4 separate regions of the Homo sapiens genome follow, and all the other regions are linked to region 1. The links are contacts of gene promoters, found by promoter capture Hi-C in blood cells and fetal thymus (Javierre and others, 2016). All regions are on one chromosome and are shown on one strand. The core of a region is centred on a gene start or on the middle of the fragment in contact, and the rest is flanking DNA. Distances in the headings are between cores, read along the strand shown. Region 1 holds the start of CUX1 (cut like homeobox 1). Region 2 has its middle 70 kb from the start of CUX1. Region 3 overlaps CUX1 (cut like homeobox 1). Region 4 overlaps CUX1 (cut like homeobox 1).

What was found. Contacts are between HindIII fragments. The CHiCAGO score rates a contact against its expected background, and 5 or more counts as called.
Region 2: a fragment that was not itself captured here is called in contact with the fragment with the promoter of CUX1 in region 1 in 14 of 17 cell types (total CD8 T cells, naive CD4 T cells, naive CD8 T cells and 11 more); the score reaches 15.6 in total CD8 T cells.
Region 3: a contact is called between a fragment that was not itself captured here and the fragment with the promoter of CUX1 in region 1, in 3 of 17 cell types (monocytes, M1 macrophages and fetal thymus). The highest score is 8.7, in monocytes.
Region 4: a fragment that was not itself captured here is called in contact with the fragment with the promoter of CUX1 in region 1 in 1 of 17 cell types (monocytes); the score reaches 7.3 in monocytes.

Annotation. Positions count from the first base shown.
Region 1 is chr7:101,816,015-101,818,935 of GRCh38, reverse strand. It overlaps CUX1 (cut like homeobox 1), which reads right to left and starts at 1,310. Exons shown (of 24, transcript NM_181552.4): 1 at 1,267-1,310. The coding sequence starts at 1,296. RefSeq lists silencers at 1,361-1,410, 1,461-1,530, 1,561-1,640, 1,711-2,030, 2,141-2,300 and 1 more and an enhancer at 2,126-2,921. The HindIII fragment of the contact is 10,531 bases long and covers 1-2,921 here.
Region 2 is chr7:101,745,672-101,748,965 of GRCh38, reverse strand. No RefSeq gene overlaps it. Among named protein-coding and RNA genes, the nearest start is that of CUX1, 70 kb to the left of the region's middle. The HindIII fragment of the contact is 281 bases long and covers 1,620-1,900 here.
Region 3 is chr7:101,935,186-101,938,566 of GRCh38, reverse strand. The region is part of intron 2 of CUX1 (cut like homeobox 1); the gene reads right to left. Among named protein-coding and RNA genes, the nearest start is that of CUX1, 120 kb to the right of the region's middle. RefSeq lists enhancers at 1,443-2,014, 2,015-2,586, 2,502-2,641, 2,587-3,158, 3,159-3,381. The HindIII fragment of the contact is 1,072 bases long and covers 1,170-2,241 here.
Region 4 is chr7:101,896,175-101,899,185 of GRCh38, reverse strand. All of the region lies in intron 1 of CUX1 (cut like homeobox 1), which reads right to left. Among named protein-coding and RNA genes, the nearest start is that of CUX1, 80 kb to the right of the region's middle. RefSeq lists enhancers at 2,373-2,873, 2,874-3,011. The HindIII fragment of the contact is 4,202 bases long and covers 1-3,011 here.

The DNA.
Region 1 (2,921 bases), core at 61-2,560:
CCGATCAGCCTCTTTACCCCCAGGTGGCAACCCAATCTCAGTATAAAGAGGTCTGGAAAAATGAGAAAAATCTGGAACTAATGAATTCTCTCCCAAACTCGTTCTATTGACTCACTGACTATCGGTGGGAATTAACCAGACACCAACTCCAAAGGCCTCCTCACCGCCCAGAGAAAGAACCAGATTGGCCTGAGACTTGAACTTTGACATTCCGTATTCGACTAAAGTTTGCAAACCCATAGGAAATCATCTAAGGCCAAATCGTTAGCAACCACCAAAAGCAAAGGAGTAAAGAGGAATGAAGTTCAAATAAGGGACTTTGTTTTGGGGTTTGGTTTTGATTTCTTCTTAATATCCACATAAAGTGCAAGTAAACTGACATGGAAACTTTCGATGGAACCCTGGAGCCCTGATCCCCTGAAGAAGTAGCTAATATGGGGGACAGGAAGGTTTAGAGTTCTTAAAATCTAGTAACTCTAGAAACCAAATCCATTTTCCAGGCAATTTTGCCAGGATGCTTTAAAAAAGACACTTCATTGATATTAAGCTAGGATGTCACATTTAGGAAGACAAGAGAGAAAAATAATAATAATGTTTGTCCTTAAAACTCCACAACGGGTTTTACAGTAAGCACAGGAATTAAATTATGGTAAAAGGGAGCTATTTTTACTAAAACAGGGTAGACCAATTTATCAAAAATGCCATTCGGCTGTGTTCATTACATCCAGGAATCTAATTTACACAATAGACACTTTGGAGTAATCTATTTTAGTCAATAAATACTTAAACTCCTTTAAGTTTTAATCTTATCGGAAATACATATTTCGCATAGTCTTCTTCCTAGTTAAGCGAGAAATTTCAGGAAATTTCATAACGACTATGACTCGGCTTTATCGTTCTTAGTAGGCAAGAGCAGAAAACAAGCATATACAATTAAAGTTGTCAGATTCCATTTAAATATGTTTTAATCCAACCCGCTTCGTTTGATACAAGCCTGCATCTCGAGCTTTGCTCCCAAAGGTATTGCGGTAGGTCACTGTCACCAGTCCTCCAGGTTAGGAAAGTTCAGCCAAGTTTATCTTCACGCACACCTTAGCAGTTGGGAGTAGCTGCAGTTCCCCAGGGGCCCTGAGGAACCCTCCTATCCCCTCCCAGAGCACCAGGCCGCCCTAGAGCATTCTAAGCCGCGGGACCCGGGCACCCCCCGACATCCCCGGTTCCCTCCGCGCCTGCAACCTCGGGACTTCTGGCCCACACGCCGCTCACCTTCAACCTGGCTCCGGCTACGCACAACATCCACCTGGCAGAGTCCCGGGGCTGTCCCGGCGCCGCGGGCGCCGAGCTGGCACGTGCGGGGCGGACCCTAAGGGTGCGCCGCTCCTCCGGGCGGGGGGTGGCAGGCAGGCACTCGCCCCTTGGGCACGGCGGCGACTCGGGCGCGGGCCGGGGAGCCCCGGCACGGTCCCCCCGCGGCGCCGGGGACTCCGCGCGCGGACCACCGCCCGGCATGCCACGGTCCCAACGGGCCCCCGGGGCTCTGCTTTCGAGAACCCGGCCCGAGAAGGCATCTCCGAGCGCACCCGCCGCGCGCTCCATGGCGGGCCCTGCAGAGAGGGCAGAAGCCCCGAGGGGACGCAAGGAAGGGACCCGGCGCCGCAGGTCACCGGGGGCCGCCGGAGCCCCCAGGCGCGCGGCGATCGCGGCTCGGACCGGCGGCGGGGAGGCAGCGTACACTGCCCGGGCACCCGGGGGAACAGCTTGGGGCCTGCCTAGGGGAAAGTTGCAGCCTCCTCCTCCCGCGCCCGCACCCGGCGGTCCGGGACACCGGGACCCAGCGACACTGCGCGCGGGGCACCCCCGCCGCCCCTCGCCAAGTTTCCCCAAAGAGCCCCCGCGGGGGTCCGCCACGGAGGAACAGGTCCGCGTCACCGACACAGGCACACAAAAGAGCGCGGCGGCCGCGAGGTGCGCGGGTGGCCCCGGGGCGCTCCCCGGGACGTAAACAAACCCGGGGGTCCGCGCCGGGAGCCACACGCGGGGTGCCGGAGCGGCGGCGCGGCCCGGGCCGGTGACAGCCGGGGGCGGCGGCCGGGGCCGGCCGGGGGTAGCGAGCGCGGGCGCCTGCCCGGCCACCCGCCCGCCTGGCCGGAGCCGGGCCGCGCCGCCGCCGCCGCCGCCGGTGGCCGCTCTGACCCTCCCCCGAGCCGGCGGCACCACAGCGCCACCAGCCCCAGCTCCGCCGCGCCGGCGGCAGTGGCGGCGGCTCCTCCTGGAGAGGCAGGCGCTTCACCCCCCGCAGCAACTCCCCACAAACTTTCCCCGGGAATACGGCGGGCCGGGGGCGCGGGGCGAGCGGGCGGGCGGGCGCCACCGCCGGGCCGCGGCCCCCTCCCGGCGCCCGCCGCCGCCCGCCCCCCGCCGCCCGCTCCCCGCTCCCCGCTCGCGCGCGCACCCCGCGGGCCGCCGGGGCCGCCCCCTCCCCGGTCCCGCGGCGGCAACGGCGGCGGCGGCGCTGGCGGCGGCGGCGGCGCGGGGCCCGGGGGGGCGCCCGGGGTGGGGGCAGACACCGGGGGCAGTGGTGGCGGCGGCGGCTCCCGGCGCCATCTTGGGCTGATCGATGAATTGAACAAAGAGGATCAATTTCCGATCAAGCGAGTGATCAATGGGGGCCGGGGAGCGGGAGGGACTCGGCCCCGACTCGGCCCCGCGGTGCCCGGCACCCCCCTCCTCCCCGCCGCCGCGGGCCCCCCGGCGGCTGGGCCAGCCCGGGGCCCCCGGCGGAGGCCGCGACCGCCCGCAGCCCCCACCCCCGGGCGCGAGGCCGAGCGCGGAGGAGCCTGACCTGCAGCTGCTGTAAATCAAAGCGCTTCCAATATTGAAACATCGATCCCACATTGGCCGCCATCTTGAGACATATTGAG
Region 2 (3,294 bases), core at 511-3,010, 70 kb after region 1:
TAATATTTTTTTGTATTTTTAGTAGAGACAGGGTTTCATCATGTTAGCCAGGATGGTCTTGATCTCCTGACCTCGTGATCCACCCACCTCGGCCTCCCAAAGTGCTGGGATTACAGGCATGAGCCACTGTGCCCAGCCCCCCATCTCTATTAAATATACAAAAAAAAAAAAAAAAAAAAATAGCCAGGCATGGTGGTGGGCACCTGTAATCCCAGCTACTTGGGAGGCTGAGGAGGAGAATCGCTCGAACCCGGGAGGCGGATGTTGCAGTGAGCTGAGATCGCGAGACTGCACTCCAGCCTGGGCAACAAGAGCAAAAATCCGTTTCAAAAAAAAAAAAAAAAAAAAAAAAAACCAATTCCTTGCTATGGCTTTCCAGAGTCAGGGTGAAGTTCCAGAGACCCAGGCACCTGGGCTGGAACCCCAGCCGTGCCAGGTACCCCTGGTGATCTAGGGCACATCCATTTGCCCTCCCCCCACCCGAGCCTCAGTTTCCCCATCTGTAAAGCAAAGGCAATGCATTCCTTCACTTTCTAGTTCTCAGGGGTTGCTGTGGGTGGTGAGACAGGGCCCACGAAGGTTTGCGGTGCGGGGTGGGACGCAGTAGGACCCTCATGGGGTGACTGGTGAGTACAATTGGCCATCCTTTCTCTCCAGCCTCCGTGGGGAGGTCGCCTTGACTCGCAGACTTGGCTTTGCTCCATCTGTGCACGGCTCTCTTCCCTGGAGCCTGAGTGGAATGTTTTCTCTTCCCTCCTCCTCCTCCTCCTCCTCCTCTTCCTGTGACCGTCTGTGGGATGCCTCCAGTGTCCTGGGGTCCCCCGGAGGCGGCCCGAACCCTCTCCCCGCCCAGCGCGGCCCCTCGGCCCACCAGGCTGTTTCCAATTTGAACACCATGCATCTTGTCTCTGAGATCACAGCCGCCTCTTTGATGGAACTAATGATGATCTAGGACTTTGGGGGCCCCAGACCTCCCCAAACTGAGATAAATCCTGCCTCTGTGCAGACAAGGGGCCTCCAGCCCGGCATCTGATCCCCCTCCTCCGGGCTGGACAGGGAGGGGAGGTGTCTGTGGGAGTCCCCTCCCGGCAGGCTGGGAGGGTGGTGGCTGAGTCCAGGGAGACAGGAAGAAAGGGATTTCTCTGAGGCTCCAAAGAGGGTCCCACAACCCGGTGGGGGAGGGTGGCAAGCTTGTGAAAGGGCCTCTTAGAAGGCGGTCTGATCCCATCACAACCCAGGACACAGCTGGAGCAGAAGGCAACTTACACAGGCCAGCCTGCTTCTCAGACTCAGTGCCACTAACTGTTCCTGGCACCTTGCTTGCACCGCTGGGGACGCAGGGAGGAATGACTCTAGTTTCTGCCGCCAGGAGCTCGTGATGAGGGAGAGGGATGGGTAAACCAATGACTCCAATATTGCGTATTGAGGACTGCAATGGTGAGGACCCCAGGGGCTGTGGGAGCACGGCAGATAGGACCTGACGCAGCCTGTAGAGCCTGGAAGGCTTCCTGGAGGAGGTAGCCCTGATCTGGGTCTTGCGCAGGTCCCACAATGAGCAGATGATGTGCCCTGTCCATACAGAATAAACAATAAAAAATGATACTAAACCCTATCAAGCTTGCCCAACCTGCCTTGTTTGGCTGTTGTTGTTCTGTTCTGTTTTAGGCTTTTAGCAGCCTGAAACCATGGTTTTTAGTTTCTGTCTCTAGTGACAAGCGGAAAAGAGGGATGAGGAAGGGGATTTACTGACCCAACCAGAAACAGAAACTAAGAGCCTGTGACTGTATTCTCTCCCTTGGACACCCCTGAAACCATGAAACTTACACATATGCTGAAATTAAAATACCTTCTTTCTAGATTTTCTGATCGGAAAATTTTGGATCCGTTCATCAAAGAAGCTTTATTTTATTATTATTATTATTAATTTTTGAGACTGAATCATGGTCTGTTGCACAGGCTGGAGTGCAGTGGTACGATCTCAGCTCACTGCAACCTCTGCTTCCCAGGTTCAAGTGATTCTCCTGCCTCAAGCTCCCGAGTGGCTGGGATTACAGGTGCCCGCCACCAGGCCTGGCTAATTTTTGTATTTTTAGTAGAGACAGGGTTTTACCACGTTGGCCATGCTGGTCTCGAATTCCTGACCTCAGGTGATCTGCCCTCCTCAGCCTCCCAAAGTGCTGGGATGACAGGCATGAGCCACCACACCCAGTCTATTATTATTAATATTTAGAGATGGGATCTCTGTCAACCAGGCTGGAGTGCAGCAGTGTGTGATCATAGCTCACTGCAGCCTCGAACTCCTGGCCTTAAGCGATCCTCCTGCTTCAGCCTCCCAAAGTGCTGGGATTTTAGGTGCATGCCACCATGCACTTAGCCCATTTTAAGTTTTTAAAGAAATGTGAGTTGGACTCTGGTGAGCAGCAGAAGGTGGAGGAAGAGGAAGTGAAAGGTGAAGGAGGCAGAGGAGGAGCATTGAGTGCTGGGAAGGAGGAGGCACTGGCTGGGGGCTTGCCCTGTCTAAGGAGGGGCGTCCTCCAGGAAAATCAGACTGTTCTGTCATTCATGATCTGTCCTCCAACCTCTAGGAGCATCGCCCCCACCCCTTCCATAGCCGGGGGCCTGGCTCAGAAGCACAAGGTGCTCAGAGATACCAGTGAACCCCAGGGTAACAGTCGGAGTGGGCTTCCTGGAAGGGTCTGGAAGGACACTGACTTATCACCTCATAGCGGCTCCTCACTCTTCACAAGATAAAACTAGACTTTAGAGGGCAACTGTGGTGTGGCTCACACCTGTAATCCCAGCACTTTGGGAGGCCGAGGGCCTCTTGAGGCCAGGAGTCCAGGACCAGCCTGGGCAAACATAGTGAGAACCCATCTCTAAAAAACAATTTAAAAATGAGCCAGGCATGGCAGTGCATGCCTGTAGTCCCAGCTGCTTGGGAGGCTGAGGTGGGAGGATCACTTGAGCCCAGGAGGTTGAGGTTATAGTGAGGCATGATTGTGCCACTGCACTCCAGTCTGGGTGACACAGCAAGACCCTGTCTCAAAAGCAAACAACCCAACCAAAAAACCAACAAAACCCCCAAAATCCCTCAAAGAACAAAAACCCATAATTGTCTCCCACTCCCCCCAAAAAAACAACAAGAAAACTAGACCTTGGAGTGTGGCTTCATGGGCCCCTCTTCCATCTGCCCTTAGATGGATCTTCAATAATGCCCTATCTATATCAGCTCTTGGTTGGCGTGATAGAGATAATACATTCGCTGCTCCAGAGTCACTCGTGGTTCAGGCAAGG
Region 3 (3,381 bases), core at 456-2,955, 120 kb before region 1:
TCAAAGTGGACACCTGAAAAGGGTGAATCTTACTGAGTGTAAATCTGACTTTTTAAAAAAATCTCTTCCCCCAGTGAAGAACTGATTGACACCAATATCTCCAGGCCAGTAGATGAGGATGAAATGTAACCAAAAACAGGCTCCAAACATGGTGGATATCGGCCAGGCACAGTGGCTCATGCCTGTAACTACAGCACTTTGGGAGGCTGACACAGGAAGATCATTTGAGCCCCAGAGTTTGAGAGACCAACCTGGGCAACATAGCGAGACCCTGTCTCTGCAAAAAATTAGCTGGGTGTGGTGGCACACGCCTGTGGTCCCAGCTACCCAGCAGACTGAGATGGAAGGATCGCTTGAACCTGGGAGGTTGAGGCTGCAGTGAGCTGTGATCACGTCACTGCATTCCAGCCTGAGTGACAGAGTGAGACTGTCTCAAAAAAAAAAAAAAATACACACACCAAAAAACATGGATATCAACCTTTTGTACTGACTGATATCATTAAGGCCTCATAAGCAGCTAGATCCAAATATTTACTGTCATCTGTAATTCAATTATTCACCCTTCTCCTGGCTTTTCTGTGAGGAGGGAAGGGCAAGAGTGTGGGTAGAACAGATGAGTTAACAGAATCTTCTCAACGTTAAAGACTGTCTACTTTGATTTATAAAAATCTTTGGTGTCTGCTGAACTCACATTTGCTAGAAAATGCTGGTGGTGAAGTGAGTAAGCAGAAATCTACTAATATTTATATCATTAGGCTGGGCGCGGTGGCTCTCGCCTGTAATCCCAGCACTTTGGGAGGCCAAGGCGGGTGGATCACTTGAGCTCAGGAGTTCGAGACCACCCTGGCCAACATGATGAAACCCCGTCTCTACTAAAAATACAAAAAAATTAGCTGGGCATGGTGGCACGTACCTGTAGTCCCAGCTACTCGGGAGGCTAAGGCAGGAGAATTGCTTGAACCTGGGAGGCAGGGGTTGCAATGGGCCAAGATCGTGCTACTGCACTGCAGCCTGGGAGACAGAGCGAGACTCTGTCTCAATTAAAAAAAAAAAAAAAGACTTGATTTTGATTTATCCCTTTTCCCTCATTCTGAAGGCCCCCCACAACCTCCTCACACCCCACTTCCAGGGACTCGGACATGTGAATAACCCTGGCCTATGCCAAAGCTTGGGCGATCTTTGCTCAGAAATAATCCTATGGCCACCAGGTTCTGCCTCTATCTCTGTCATGTGCTATGATGACCTGGAGATGGCTTTTAGGTCTAAACATTGATGCTAAGATTCATTTCCACCACCTGAGCCCCTCCAGGAGCTAATGTCTTTCACAGGGGGAGGAGCTGGGGGCTGGGGTGCTGACATCCCGGTACAGGGTCTTCAGGGGGCCACGCAGCACACACTCCCCAGGCATCTACTTTGTGACAGAGACAGAGACATGCAAACACAGTCCCGGCAGGGGACACATCCTCAATCAGCATCTGGAGGAAGGGACACAGAGGGAGGCCATGGGAGGGGGCCCAAACTGGCCTCAGAGTAAGCATTCCAGGAGCTGGTTCTAAATGCAAGTCCCCAGGCCCTTCCCCGGTGACTGTGTCTCACTAAGTCTAGGGTGGGGCCCAGGGACAGTATTTTTAACAAGCATACACACACACCCAGGAGGTTTTTATGATTAGCCATGTTAGGAAAACGCTGACACGGGGGAGCTCCTGCGTGCCTGGAAACGAAGCTGCTTGCTTAACCATTATGGTTCTGAGAGCTGGGAACCCTGATTGCATGATCTCCACCTAGCCGGTCCCACGTGGCCAGGGCAGAAAGCAAAACCCCAAAGCGAGGAGGCCGGTGGGGATGGCAGGGCTGGCGCCTGGGCAGTTTCCTCCGCTGGCCCCCTGCCACCCTCCGCACAAACACAGCCCGGCTGCCGCCTCCAATCCAGACCACCCACGGCAGCCGGGCATGATGGTCGCCGGGCTTTCCTCTCTTCTGTCCCCTGCACTTAGCCCCCGCTCACCCTTGAAGGATAACCTTTTCTCCTATGTATCCGGGAAAACTCCCAGGGGATCCTGCCCTAACTTCCTCCCCGGGGTTCCCATCTCCCTGAGTTCCCTCCTGTCTGCTCGCCAGCCCGAGTGCCGGATCCCATCTCCTCCCAAACTCTGTGACCTTCATCTCGCTCTGGAAATGACGTTCGTGCCTCTCTTGGAATGCTCTCTTTCTCCCCACCCCCGTCACACCTGAAAACAAGCTTGGGGCTCCCCCTTGTCAGGATGGGGAAGTCCATACCTTAACCTGGTCCATCTACAGATGTACCCGCCCTCCTCCCTCCTCCCTCCTCCCATCCTTCTCAGCCAAGTGCTTTCAAAACCCACTGTCTCTATGCCCCAGTTCCACAGTCAGAATCCTCCACCTGCATCTCCTTGACAGTGTTTTCCTGCCCTGTAGTTTAACATCTGTCTCCACTAGAATGTAAGCACCGCGAGGGCAGGGACCTTGGCCTTCTGCTCACTGCTGCAGCCTCAGGGCCTGCAACTGCCTGGCACACAGCTGGTCCACAACAGATCGTTGTTGAATAAGACATAACCACCGCTTCCTTGTTTTAAGAGCGTGTTTCTCGCAGAGTCCTCTAAAACAGTGTCTCAGCTGTTCCGGCTCCACCTCTGTCCCCAAACGTCCATCTGCTGCCAGGCTGTAGAGTGTAACTTCGGCTGGAAATGTGAGCCTGGCCATGTGACTCCCAAGTGTGCACCCTCTGACACTTGGCAAAGCCTCAGACAGAGTGAAGTCCAAGCTTCACTTGGCCTGAGCCCCAGCATCGTGTGCTGTCCCCAACACCACCCCAGCCTCCTCACGCCTCGTGACAGCCCCACACCATTGCCACACCAGGTCCGGGTTCCTACACATCCCCAGAGCCCTGTCTCTAGCTCCAAACATCTGCTGGGTGCTGCCCTCCCAAGAGTTTCATTTACTACTTTAGAACAAAATGGTGGATACCATGCCAACCTCCCCAGCTGGGCCAGGAGTGCCCGGAGAAGTGCAGGGCACCCACAGCAGATGTGCCAGCATGTCCGATGGCAGGACACAGAGCTGGGAAAGCGTGGACGGAGCCAGGCCTTGTCCATTCATGAATGGCAGTCTCTTTCACTCACGTCCGTGTGAAAAGACCACCAAACAGGCTTTGTGTGAGCAATAAAGCTGTTTATTTCACCTGGGTGCAGGTGGGCTGAGTCTGAAAAGAGAGTCAGCGAAGGGAGAAAGGGGTGGGGCCGTTTTATAGGATTTGGGTAGGTAAAGGAAAATTACAGTCAAAAGGGGTTTGTTCTCTGGCGGGCAGAGTGGGGGTCACAAGGTGCTCAGTAGGGGAGCTTTTGAGCCAGGATGAGCCAGGAG
Region 4 (3,011 bases), core at 273-2,772, 80 kb before region 1:
GATCTATAAGGACCCACTCCACCCCATCACCATCTTATCACTACCACCCAGGGTCTGGACCCCAGAACACTGCCCATGCAGCAACAGGAAGCAACTTGGACCAGGCAGCCTTGGTGATGCTCTCCAGCCACTTCTCTGCCCACGAGGTTCCATCACAGATAAGAAGCCACAGGCAGCCATGCACAAATAGCCGCCAGTGGACGGGGCTCTGGGATGCTGCACCTATGTGCACCAACGCCTTCCACGCCACTCAGTATGTTATTCTTCCAAGCTAGTGTAACTATAAAGGAAATTAGCCGGGTGCGGTGGCTTATGCTTTGTAATCCCAGCACTGTGGGGGGCCGAAGCAGGCAGATCACCTGTGGTCAGGAGTTCGAGACTGGCCTGGCCAACATGGCAAAACCCTGTCTCTACTAAAAATATAAATATTAGCCAGGTGTGGTGGTGCGTGCCTGTAATCCCAGCTACTCAGGAGGCTGACGCAGGAGAATCACTTGAACCCGGGAGGCGGAGGTTGCAGTGAGCCAAGGTCGCGCCGCTGCACTCCAGCCCAGGCCACAGGGCAAGACTCTGTCTCAAAAAAAAAAAAAAAAAAAAAAAGACACAGAAATGGAAAGAAACAAGAATAGTCTCTGAAGGAATCCTGAAGCAGCTTCAGTGAATAAAGTACATACAGGAAGCCGCCCCAAGAAGAGAAAATAGGATAAACTAAGAGGGAATTACGAGCCTGGCACTGAATGGCATTGGAGACTTCCCCGTCCCGGCGGCTGCCAGTTCTTCTCCTCGTCCCCACTGCTTTAAACACGGGGAGCCCAGAGCCAGTGAGCTGCTGACCTGTCAGATCTGACTTCTGGAATAAAAATGAAAAGGCCGAGTGGCAGCCGTAACATGGAATTTCCTTGTTTTTATTAGTTTAAGGCTCTTAAAGAGTGACTTTTACATTGGGGAAAACTTCTCAAATATGTACTACTTGAGACTTAGATCCAGTTACCTCTCACATGTTTTCAATCATTCTGCTTGCCAATTTTACTAGATATCAAAAGACATTTGCGGTTTAAAGCAGGGGAATGGGTCCCCCCCAACCATTCCCCACTCCAAGTACATCTGCGCTCCCTGCGGTGACTCTTCCCCCTAGATCCCTGACCCCTCGGGGCTGCCAAAAAGGCCCACCGGGGTACCGGGGGTGCTACTGGATCCACGCAGGCAAGCTGGGTGGGGGTAGGAGGGTGGTTTATTTCAAGCACTGGTACTGCAGGGGAAGAATTTTTTGGTTTTGGTTTTTAGACAAAAACTATTGATAAAATCCAGCTTTTTACATGACTTGCCACTCACATCAAGTCCAAGGAACAGAGGTTCCTCTTGAAACACACACACCAATAAGCAAAACCCTAAGACTACCACACTGGAAAAAAAATGGTTATTCAGTCATCCATCCCAAGAGCTGAAACTATAAAGATTTGGGGATGATAATATCAGACTGGTCACGCTATAGTCTGGGGTTCATTTAACATTGAAGCTGGGTGTGAAAACAGTAAACTGTTGCCCATGACCTGCGCTGTGATACTTACATCAGCAGAAATAATTATGAAAGTCTAACCAATTGTGTTGTTAGATATCTTCTAACTAAGCACAGAACCTCTACTTTTTTCTTTTCTTTATTTTATTATTATTATTTTTTTTTTTTAAGAGACAACATCTCGCCCTTCACTCAGGCTGGAGTACAGTGGCACGATCATAGCTCACTGCGGGCTTGAACTCCTGGGCTCAAGCAATCCTTCCACCTCAGCCTTTCAAGTAGCTGACACGACAGGTGCATGCCACCATGCCCAGCTACTTTTTAAAAATTTCTGTAGAAATGAGGCCTCGATATGTTGCCCAGGCTTCACTTGCTGTATTAACCAAACACACCCAGGGGTGGCTGAGCCTTCGAGGATGTCAAGCCACAAGATGTCTAATAGCAAATGACGTAAAACTCTGCGCTGTCATCCAGGGACAGAGATGGGAAGAGAGAGTTTGAAACCTCATTAAAAACAAAATGAAACACACTTCCTGCTTCGCAGATGCGTCCTAAATAGTTTGCTTGATATAAATTCAGAGGAAGGCCTAATAAGAGGGAGTAAATGGGTGCTGGCTGAAAGGAGGCTGCCCTTCAAGACAGTTGTGTGTGCGTGACTTTTCTGCACATCAGATAGGCTCAGGGGGGCCACTGCTGAGCCAGGCTTGTATCTTACTCTTCATAGGGACTGACTGCTTGCCTTATACAAAAAGGATAATACTGACTGCTCGTAAGAACTTACTGGGAGTGCGTCTCTAAATTTCTGGTACAAACGTGCACTTTCCCTATGAATACTCAAAGGCAAACAAATCCTCTAAGATGAAAAACTTCATATTTAGTTTGTTAGGGACAGACAGGCTCCACATTTCAGCACAAACATTTATTTTTAATCAAGCTAATTTTTTATTTTTCCCATTTAAGACCTGTTAATTCCATGACTGAGAATTCATCAAGTTTCAGACTGGAATTAATTTTAGCAACTGCTTTATACCAAAAATATTAGTGACGGTAGCTGTGTAACTGGCTTTGCTTCACAGTCTGTCATGGGAAAGTCTGAGCATTTGTGTTCCTTCCAGAGTCTAGTTGGAGCTGACAAAGGCGAGTTCTAAAGTGAGTTCACCATTTTCCCCTGAGGAGCAGAGCTGTCAGAAGCAATACCAGCAATCTGTTCACTGGTCTACTTTACACAAAGCTGACTGTGGCGTTCCTGTGTATACCTTCATACACCCCTTCATTCACCCATTCACGTTTCTGCAAACGCACACCGATTCGACGCTTACTGTGCATGTCCCCACGGTGCCTGCTGTTGCTCTGTTCCCACACCTGCTTCCTGGCCTACCTGCTGCACCTGGGGCAAGGCTGCCCACGACCTGCAAGAGCTGGAGGTCGGAAGACTGCTGGCTGTGGTCTGCTCTTTTCATTTTAATTTTATGGGTGAGCCAGGCATGGTGGCTCA